Linked DNA regions of Homo sapiens: regions 1 and 3 are each linked to region 2. Evidence: promoter capture Hi-C in 16 types of primary human blood cells and fetal thymus (Javierre and others, 2016). All regions are on one chromosome and are shown on one strand. The core of a region is centred on a gene start or on the middle of the fragment in contact, and the rest is flanking DNA. Distances in the headings are between cores, read along the strand shown. Region 1 overlaps AARS2 (alanyl-tRNA synthetase 2, mitochondrial). Region 2 holds the start of MRPS18A (mitochondrial ribosomal protein S18A). Region 3 has its middle 3.6 kb from the start of SPATS1.

Evidence for each region. The method cuts DNA at HindIII sites, captures the fragments that hold promoters and counts their contacts. A CHiCAGO score of 5 or more calls a contact.
Region 1: a fragment that was not itself captured here is called in contact with the fragment with the promoter of MRPS18A in region 2 in 4 of 17 cell types (naive CD4 T cells, total B cells, naive B cells and 1 more); the score reaches 6.4 in naive CD4 T cells.
Region 3: a fragment that was not itself captured here is called in contact with the fragment with the promoter of MRPS18A in region 2 in 1 of 17 cell types (activated CD4 T cells); the score reaches 5.0 in activated CD4 T cells.

The regions. Positions count from the first base shown.
Region 1 is chr6:44,309,293-44,311,992 of GRCh38, reverse strand. AARS2 (alanyl-tRNA synthetase 2, mitochondrial) reads left to right here. Exons shown (of 22, transcript NM_020745.4): 3 at 458-603; 4 at 832-999; 5 at 1,550-1,694. The region is part of intron 2 of LOC124901322 (a long non-coding RNA gene); the gene reads right to left. Among named protein-coding and RNA genes, the nearest start is that of AARS2, 2.7 kb to the left of the region's middle. The HindIII fragment of the contact is 2,069 bases long and covers 281-2,349 here.
Region 2 is chr6:43,686,394-43,689,093 of GRCh38, reverse strand. It overlaps MRPS18A (mitochondrial ribosomal protein S18A), which reads left to right and starts at 1,303. Exons shown (of 6, transcript NM_018135.4): 1 at 1,303-1,426. The coding sequence starts at 1,315. LOC124901320 (a long non-coding RNA gene) reads right to left here and starts at 132. Exons shown (of 2, transcript XR_007059586.1): 1 at 1-132. RefSeq lists enhancers at 933-1,544, 1,490-1,549. The HindIII fragment of the contact is 1,093 bases long and covers 1,008-2,100 here.
Region 3 is chr6:44,337,684-44,340,383 of GRCh38, reverse strand. No RefSeq gene overlaps it. Among named protein-coding and RNA genes, the nearest start is that of SPATS1, 3.6 kb to the left of the region's middle. The HindIII fragment of the contact is 1,726 bases long and covers 516-2,241 here.

The DNA of each region.
Region 1 (2,700 bases), core at 66-2,565, 620 kb before region 2:
GCCTCATACCAGATGTGGAGGCAAAGTGCTAGTTGAGCCGGTGTAACAGGAATTACCTCACCTCCCTGATTGGATTGTAAGTCCCTGAAGGGCAGAGACTGTACTTTCTGCCTAATGATCACTCAAAAATTGTTGTTTGAATAAATGGTCAAACAGCAATGCTAAGGTGCTTACTGGAGTTAAAGATCACTCTAGGCTAGAGTAGGCAGAGAATTTCATGTGAAAGTGGGACTTGGTCTGGGACTTGAAAGAAGATAGGACTTAGAAGAAGGGGGAAGCTTTCTGGGCAGGAAAACACTCAGAGGCAGTAATGGTTCATGGCTTATTCTGGGAACAAGATGGCAGCAGAAATGCTTTTGTCTTAAGTCGGGAGCTAAACTCATGTGGCTTGATTACTTCAGTGGGGTCTCCCTCTCACCCGTCTTCCCCCCCCACCCCATGCTGGTTTCTGCTGCAGGAGGAGGCTTGTAACATGGCCTGGGAACTGCTGACTCAGGTCTATGGGATCCCTGAGGAAAGGCTCTGGATCTCCTACTTTGATGGTGACCCCAAGGCAGGGCTGGACCCAGACCTGGAGACCAGGGACATCTGGCTGAGCTTAGGGTAAGTCAGCCCCCTTCTTATGTTCATTCCTGGAGGTCAGGAGGACTGGAAAGTGGAGACTACCAGCACCAATCCTCAGAGTCTTAGCATTTCATTCCAGGATATTGTGGGGTCAGCCCTGTTCCTCCTCTTGCTGAGCTGTGACTTGAGGGAGGGGCTCTCATGGCAGAGAGAGTCCCAGCTTCTGGGTCTGTCTGTCTCCCACCACTCACCTGCTTTTCTCCCCAGGGTGCCTGCTAGCCGTGTGCTTTCCTTTGGACCACAAGAGAACTTCTGGGAGATGGGGGATACTGGCCCTTGTGGGCCCTGTACTGAGATCCACTACGACCTTGCTGGTGGGGTGGGAGCCCCCCAGCTGGTAGAGCTTTGGAACCTGGTCTTCATGCAACACAACAGGTAATAGGGTGCTGAAGCAGGATGAGAATCCCTGACTAGAAGTGGGAAAGGTGGCAATTAGAAGACTTTGATCTGTTTCATATAAAAACAAACATGTAAACGGTGCTTACCGTGTGTCAGGCACAATTCTCAACACCTTATAGATAATAACTGATTTAATTGTAGTCTTTGCCTGTGACAGCTTAAACAAGTCACTGCTATTCTCTGTTGAACTTGATGATCAACGAGTTGAACTTGATGATCTCAGATTTTCTTCTAGCCTTGACATATCTTTCTAGGGGCAAAGAATTCTGTCCCAAGATGGGATGTCTGGTGCCCAGGCAAGGGCCCAAGCAGGGGTGAGAATGGAAATAGCCCTATATGAGGAAGGACAGGACCCCAAGGCCATCATCATCTGCTATTGCAGGGTGGCAGGGGAAGATACTGATTGTCTGGTTCCTCCCACTGTCAGCTCCCTTGGGCCCCCCCCCATTTCTCTACTCCACTTGGGCATCTGTCTCACACCTGTAATCCTGGGTGGGGCCTCACCTTGCACACCTTCCCTGGCCAGAGAGGCAGATGGAAGCCTGCAGCCCCTGCCCCAGCGGCATGTGGACACAGGAATGGGCCTGGAAAGGCTGGTGGCTGTGCTGCAAGGCAAACACTCCACCTATGACACTGACCTCTTTTCCCCGCTGCTCAACGCCATACAGCAGGTGAGTGCCTCTTCCCTTCCAGAAGCCCTCTAACCTGCTCTTCACAGCCCTCAGCCCCATTGCATTCCATCTTTGTTGAGAACTCAGAGTGTTCTCAGCATCTGAGGACAATAACCAACCAAGAATTCCAAGACGTCAAGCAAGACACTAGGATTCATTACTTATTACCTGATGTTCCTCCTAACTCCTTGCCTCTTTCATTTATTTAGAAAATACGTGTTGAGTGCTTACTTTATGTTAAATCCTTTGTGTTTGGTACAGAAGACACAGCAGTAAGCAGGAAAGAGATCATGGAGATTATATGCTAGCATGAGAGATAGACAATCAATAAATGTGTTAAAGAACAAGGTAATAGCTTACAGATTGTGAACAGGCAGTAAACATGGGTGAAAGTAACTAGGAAGAAGGAGGGGTACAGAGGAATCTTAGATAAGGTGCTTGGGGAAGGCTCACCAAGAAGATGACCTTTGAGCTGAGCCCCAAAGGAGGAGTCAGCTACAGGAAGTTCTTTCCAGGCAGAGGGGACAGCAGGTACCAAGGGCCTTGGTACTGATGGATTAGATGGGGAGGGGAAAGAGAAATCAAAGATGGCTCCCAGGCTATTGGCTTGAGCAACACAGTGAATGGCATGACTGTTTACTGAGATGAAGAAGCTTGGGGAAGAGAGAGGTTTGGAGCTAGGTGAATCAAGCTCCCTGCTTTGGAGCATTTCCACATGTGTGTAGCTTATACCCTCCCTCCTTGCCCCGCAAGAAAGGGCTTGACATGTGCCAAAAACTAAAAGGTGGCCAGCCAGCTAAAGGAGAATCCCATGGGATATAGTAGGAACATGTGTCAGTTGGCTTTTGCTGTATAACCACCCTAATGCTCTGTGGCTTAACCAACAACCATGTATCTGCCCCCTGAGTCTGTGAGCTAGCGTTTAGGCTGGGCTTAGCTGGCTCATTCTTTGGTCTTGTGTGAGCTCATTCATCCATCTGTGGTGAGCTGAGAGGCCGCAGCTCCT
Region 2 (2,700 bases), core at 54-2,553:
CTTTGGTACCATAAGCTTCCTTACAACACAAGTGAGTCCAACTTGTGAAAAGAGTCATCTCCATAACTGCTCTATTAACTAGCTTATGTTTATTGAGCCCTTTTGTTTTGTTTTGTTTTGTTTTGTTTTGTTTTTGAGACGGAGTTTCACTCTTGTCGCCCAGGCTGGAGTGCAATGGTGTGATCTTGGCTCACTGCAACCTCCGCCTCCTGGGTTCAAGCGATTCTCCTGCCTCAGCCTCCCAAGTGTCTGGGATTACAGGTGCCCGCCACCACACCCACCTAATTTTTGTATTTTTAGTAGATAGGGTTTCACCATGTTGGTCAGGCTGGTCTTGAACTCCTGACCTCAGGTAATCCACCCGCCTCAGCCTCCCAAAGTGCTGGGATTACAGGCATGAGCCACCACACCCGGCCGATCACTTATGTTTTATCACATCTAATCTTCAGGGTCTAGTCCTCCCCTAGGCCCTATAAAATAGATTCTACTCATTCATTCAACAAGTATATATTGTACTCTTATTATGTGTCAGGAACTATTCTAAGTGCTGGAGATGTGCGAGTCAACAGAAAACAATGTTCCTGACTTCATGGAGCTTACAGTCTGGTGAGAAGACACATACAAAACAAACATAAAACTGAAATTGTCCCAAGCACTAAGATGGAGAGGCATCTGGTGCTGAGAATGGGCAGTCAAGCAAAACTGTGGAAATAAGGTTTGAGGTGAGCTCTAAGAAATAAGCAGAAGCTAACTAGACAGCTAAAGAGCAGACAAAGGAAATAGCTTGTATCAAGGCCCTGGGGCTAGAGAGAGGTCTAAGTATATGCAAATCAAAGATCAGTGTGGCAGTGGTCAGGGAAGAAGGGGGTATCAATTCTATCCCAGGTCTGCCTGATATCCGATACTCCAGAGCCAGAGTTCCTAACCATTTCAGCCTCTCCCGTAGAGGTCTAGCCCCAGTCACAGAAGCTAAAAGTCCACAGCTCACGTGCAGTGAAGAGAAAGCTTTAAAGACATAGGTGGGGTGTTGCGTGCGATTTTCCTAAGGAAGCCTTCCAGGAAACGAATGCAACCTTGAAGACTTGTAGGCATTGGCAGACAGGAGCTAGAAGACCTCCCCTAGATCCTTAACACGAAATATAGGCTTGACGCAGAAGCCTCTCTTCGTATCCCAAAGCGGACAGGTGAGAGAAATGATGTGACAGGAGCAAGCGAACTACAACCCCGCCCCGCCGTTCCTGCCCCACCACTGCGGCGGCGGGCGCTACGTTCCGGAAGCGGAAATGGACGAGAGGTCAGGGTAGGTTTTTGAAGATGGCGGCCCTCAAGGCTCTGGTGTCCGGCTGTGGGCGGCTTCTCCGTGGGCTACTAGCGGGCCCGGCAGCGACCAGCTGGTCTCGGCTTCCAGCTCGCGGGTTCAGGGAAGGTGAGTCATGCGTCCCAGCAACCTCCTGAAATTAAGAAGAGCGGCAGAGACTGCTTCCGCCAGCCCCGGTGCGCTCCTTCCTACCTTTCCTTCGTCCGATTCTGAAACTTTGGAGGTACCGGCTCCCCAGGCGTGCTTAAAAGCCCCTTCCACACCCTGGTGCCTTATCTTGATCTCCTGCCCCTTGTGAGTATCTTCACAAGGCGGAGGAGGACGGAGAGAAAAGCCTGCTTACTTAGCAGGAGCAGACACTAAACCTGTCCTAGGGCTCAGAAAAGTTTTCGGAAAGGGTTTGCATGTTAATTCTTCCTTCCATGTTCTCCGAATCGCAGTCTCTTTTATTAAAGAGTCTCTGGATCACGAAGGAAGGCCATCTGGGTACCCTCCCAGAGCCTCCCTTTCCACTTTCCCTTCTCAAAATGCTGTGATCTGATGGCGGCGTTCTCTGCCCCGGGCCGCTAGTCTCCCTGTGAGGGGGAGGCCAAAGTGGAAAGGCCATTGAATAGCTGAGACATAGGCAAATGCAGGATGGTAGTTCAGCTTTTCATTAATCTTAATCTGGGAAAGCGGCCTGATTCGAGCATCAACTGAGAGTTTACTGAATGCCAAGTGCTATGCTTCAAGCTGTGAAGGAATTCTGGAGACAGAAAATACAGCCCTTTTTCTGAAAAGCTTAGGTTCTAATGAGATTATGTATATACACACTCCAATAAATGCAAGTTAGCCTTTTACGTGACGAAGTACAGGGAGACTCAGTTACTGGAAACGGCAAACCCAGTTGGAAGTTTTCATAAAGAGGATGTGTCTTGAGCAGGCTCACAAAAGGATGGAATCTGGCGGAGAGTGAAACGGTCTTTTAGGACATAGCCTTCCTTTGTGTACTCCTGGAAGCAGGAAAGGATGAGTGATGTGCAAAAGAAGAGATGTGGGGTTTTTTGAGGATCTGGCATAGTATTGGGCAGCATATCCTTTAACGAAAGCTGAGAAGTATCCAGTGGAAAAGAGTGATCATTGTTGTCAGAGGGAGCAGAAAAGTCTAAAAAGGGCCTAATGAAGGGGCCATTGGATTTGTCTCAGAAGAGGTCTCTTTGTAGCTTTCAAACAGCAATTTCAATAGAGTGGCAAACAAGGAATCCAGTTTGGAGAAATGAAAGAGATAGTTGATGAAGAGATGGAAATAGTAAGTATGTTTGAAGAATTTAGCCCGTAAGGGAAGTGGAGCATTTGCTAGAAAAAAAAGTCTGGATATTGCCTGATTAACTTATCCATTAGTA
Region 3 (2,700 bases), core at 129-2,628, 650 kb before region 2:
CAACTAGCACAGTGCCTGGCACATATAAATGCTCAATAACCATTTATTTAATGAATGAATAAATGAGTGAGTGGGTGGGTGGGTGGATGGATGATTACAATGGTCTGAGCTGAGCCCCTCCCTCTCTTGCTTGCATCCTCCTAGGAGGAAAGAGTCCAGGTTTCTAACCTGAACCACCAGGTTCCAAGACATCAAGATCTATCTGTTGGTCAGGTGATTTTGCAAGGCAGGCGAGTGAATCACAGAAGGGAAACTTTCTCATCCTTAGTGAGTCCTGTGAACTGTGACTCACAAGCCTTCCCTTACTCTGCAGCTTAAAACCTCCCAGGCCACCTTGCCCTCACTCCTTGGGCAAGTTTTAGATGCCTGTCGCACCAGGCCTGCCCTGGCAGCTGTGCCCAAGGTTTGGCGAGGCACTGGAGCCAGCTAAAGTGTTCTCAAGGCCGTGGAGCTGCCTCTGATCAGCTTGGCCCCAACGCACAGCCAGTGTTTTCCCAGGATTGGCACCTGAAGCTTCCTGTGCACAGCAGCCCCACAACCAGAGTTCAGCAGCAGAGGCGAGGGGAGGATGCTAGATGTCCCCAGAAGACTGAGGTTCCTGAAGGTCCCAGAAAATCTTGCCTGTATAGCCGGGAGGGTGAGCACAGTTGGGCAAGAAGAAGGCCTTCCTCAGTGTTCCCTTGCCGTCCCCTGTCTGAGCACCCCAAACCAAGCCCAGCCTGGAGGTTACTGCAGCACCTGTGCAGGAACATGGAGGCCTGATGCAGGGAGGGGCGGTGGTCCCAGGTCCTTAAGGTCAACTCAACTGTTTCTCCAGCTTTAGGGCCCTCCTTTCAGCTTTACAGTCCGGGATCCTGATGTTCCACAAGCCTGGCTCTCCTGGGTCTGAATGAGCTCAGGAAACCTGGGGCTCCAGGCCAACACAAACACGCACAGGGTTTACGTGTGAAGTTTTCCACTGAACTATATAAAATTTCTGGTTATGTAGGTGAAACATAGTTGCATATCAGCAAATTTATGTTATTCAACTTAATCATGAAGGACAAATACTTCTAGCAGGTTTCATGGTGAGGCCAGAGGAGGGTGGGCTGAACTTTAACCCCCTCCCTTCCCCTTTGCTCCTTCTCCCTGAAGGACCCCACTTCGCTTTCAGTAGCTGGGAGCTTGTCTCTGGGAAGGAATGATAGACAGTGAGGCGGGGGTGGAAGCAGGGGGCCAGGCACTGGATAGGAACCGTTGGTTCTGGTTCTCCCCTGGCTCCCCCAACCCCAGACCCTTGAGAGCAGCTGGGGCAGCCATAAGAATCAAGAGCCCAGAGATTAGAGGAAACCAGACAGCAGAGGGAGAAAGATAAACTCAAATAAACTCTACCCCATTCCTCTTGAGTCTTGGCAGGACAAAAAGTGCCTGCTGGAGAAAGAAACTTGAGCCTAGAAGGATGGTATTATTTAATTGCCTAGGGTCAGAGACATTGGTAAAAAAAAAAAAAAAGCCTCGAGTTTGGTAAGCCTCAAGAGCTACAAGCTAAACTGGGTGAGGAGGGCGTCTTAAACACCACTTCTCCTCGAAAGAGCACTGCAGGCTGTCCCTATAGGGGAGCCTCTCTTCCCCAATGTCAAGGAAAGGTCACCCAGCAGAAGCCCTCATTTAACGCGCGTGTCCCATAAGTGTGCACCAGAGGGCAGTATAAACCCAGGTATGGAAAACGGGATGCGCTCATAGATTGTCTACAGTTGACTTCAAGTAAGGGGCATCACAGAGCCTTGTATAAAGACAGCGCTAGGGAAATAGGTGTTGAGTGGATTACTGACACACGGCCACCGTCAGAACCCTTCAATGGTAGGCAGAAGAAGCCTGGCAAAGATAGGGGAGAGAGAGCATTTGCTACCTCAGAACTGACTAACATGGCCAGCTCCCAAATAGCCAGAGGGCCTCCCCATCAGTTCAGGCCAGGAAACAATGACCAGACACCTGCTATGTTCCAGGCACTGTGCTAGGTACAAGAATTTAAAGGTGAGTAAAACACAGTCCTTTCCCTGACTGAGTTCCCCTGATAGCTTTGCCCATCTCTTTACATTTGTTTATCTCATTTAATCCCAACCACAGTGAAGTGCTAGTAGAATCATCCTCTGTTTACAAATGAGGAAAGACAGACTCAGAAGGCAGAAGTAACTCATCCCACCACCGTAACTGGCAAAGCTGGAGTTTAAATCCAGTCTCTTTAGATTCAGAGCCTAAGCTTTCACCACTGTGCCAGAGCCTTCTTATATGTGCCCTCAGCAATGAGCAGGTCCGTTTGTCATCTCAGTACTGGCCAGGCTGTCAGGGCTACATCCTAGGCTGCCAGACCGCCTGGGAGAGGCCTGGGAGGACGCTTGTCCCAGAAACACAAAAGTCCCTTTGGACTTGGATTTCTGAGTAACATAAATCAATGACTAAGATTTTAAAATGTGTGTAACCTATGTAATATATAAAACAGACATGCAGAGTAAGGACAGCAGCTTCTGTGAGTGGAATGCCTATACTCTACAGAACAGGAAAGGAAAAGGCTGAATTACGTGAGGTTGAAGTGGAATTCCTTCAATATGAGGTTTAACCCAATATGGACTAGGAAGTCACTGCAGATCTCTCATCAGAGGAATGATGAGGCAAAAATGGCATATGCTGCCCATCCTTGTATCCCTCCCAGGTCCACTCCCA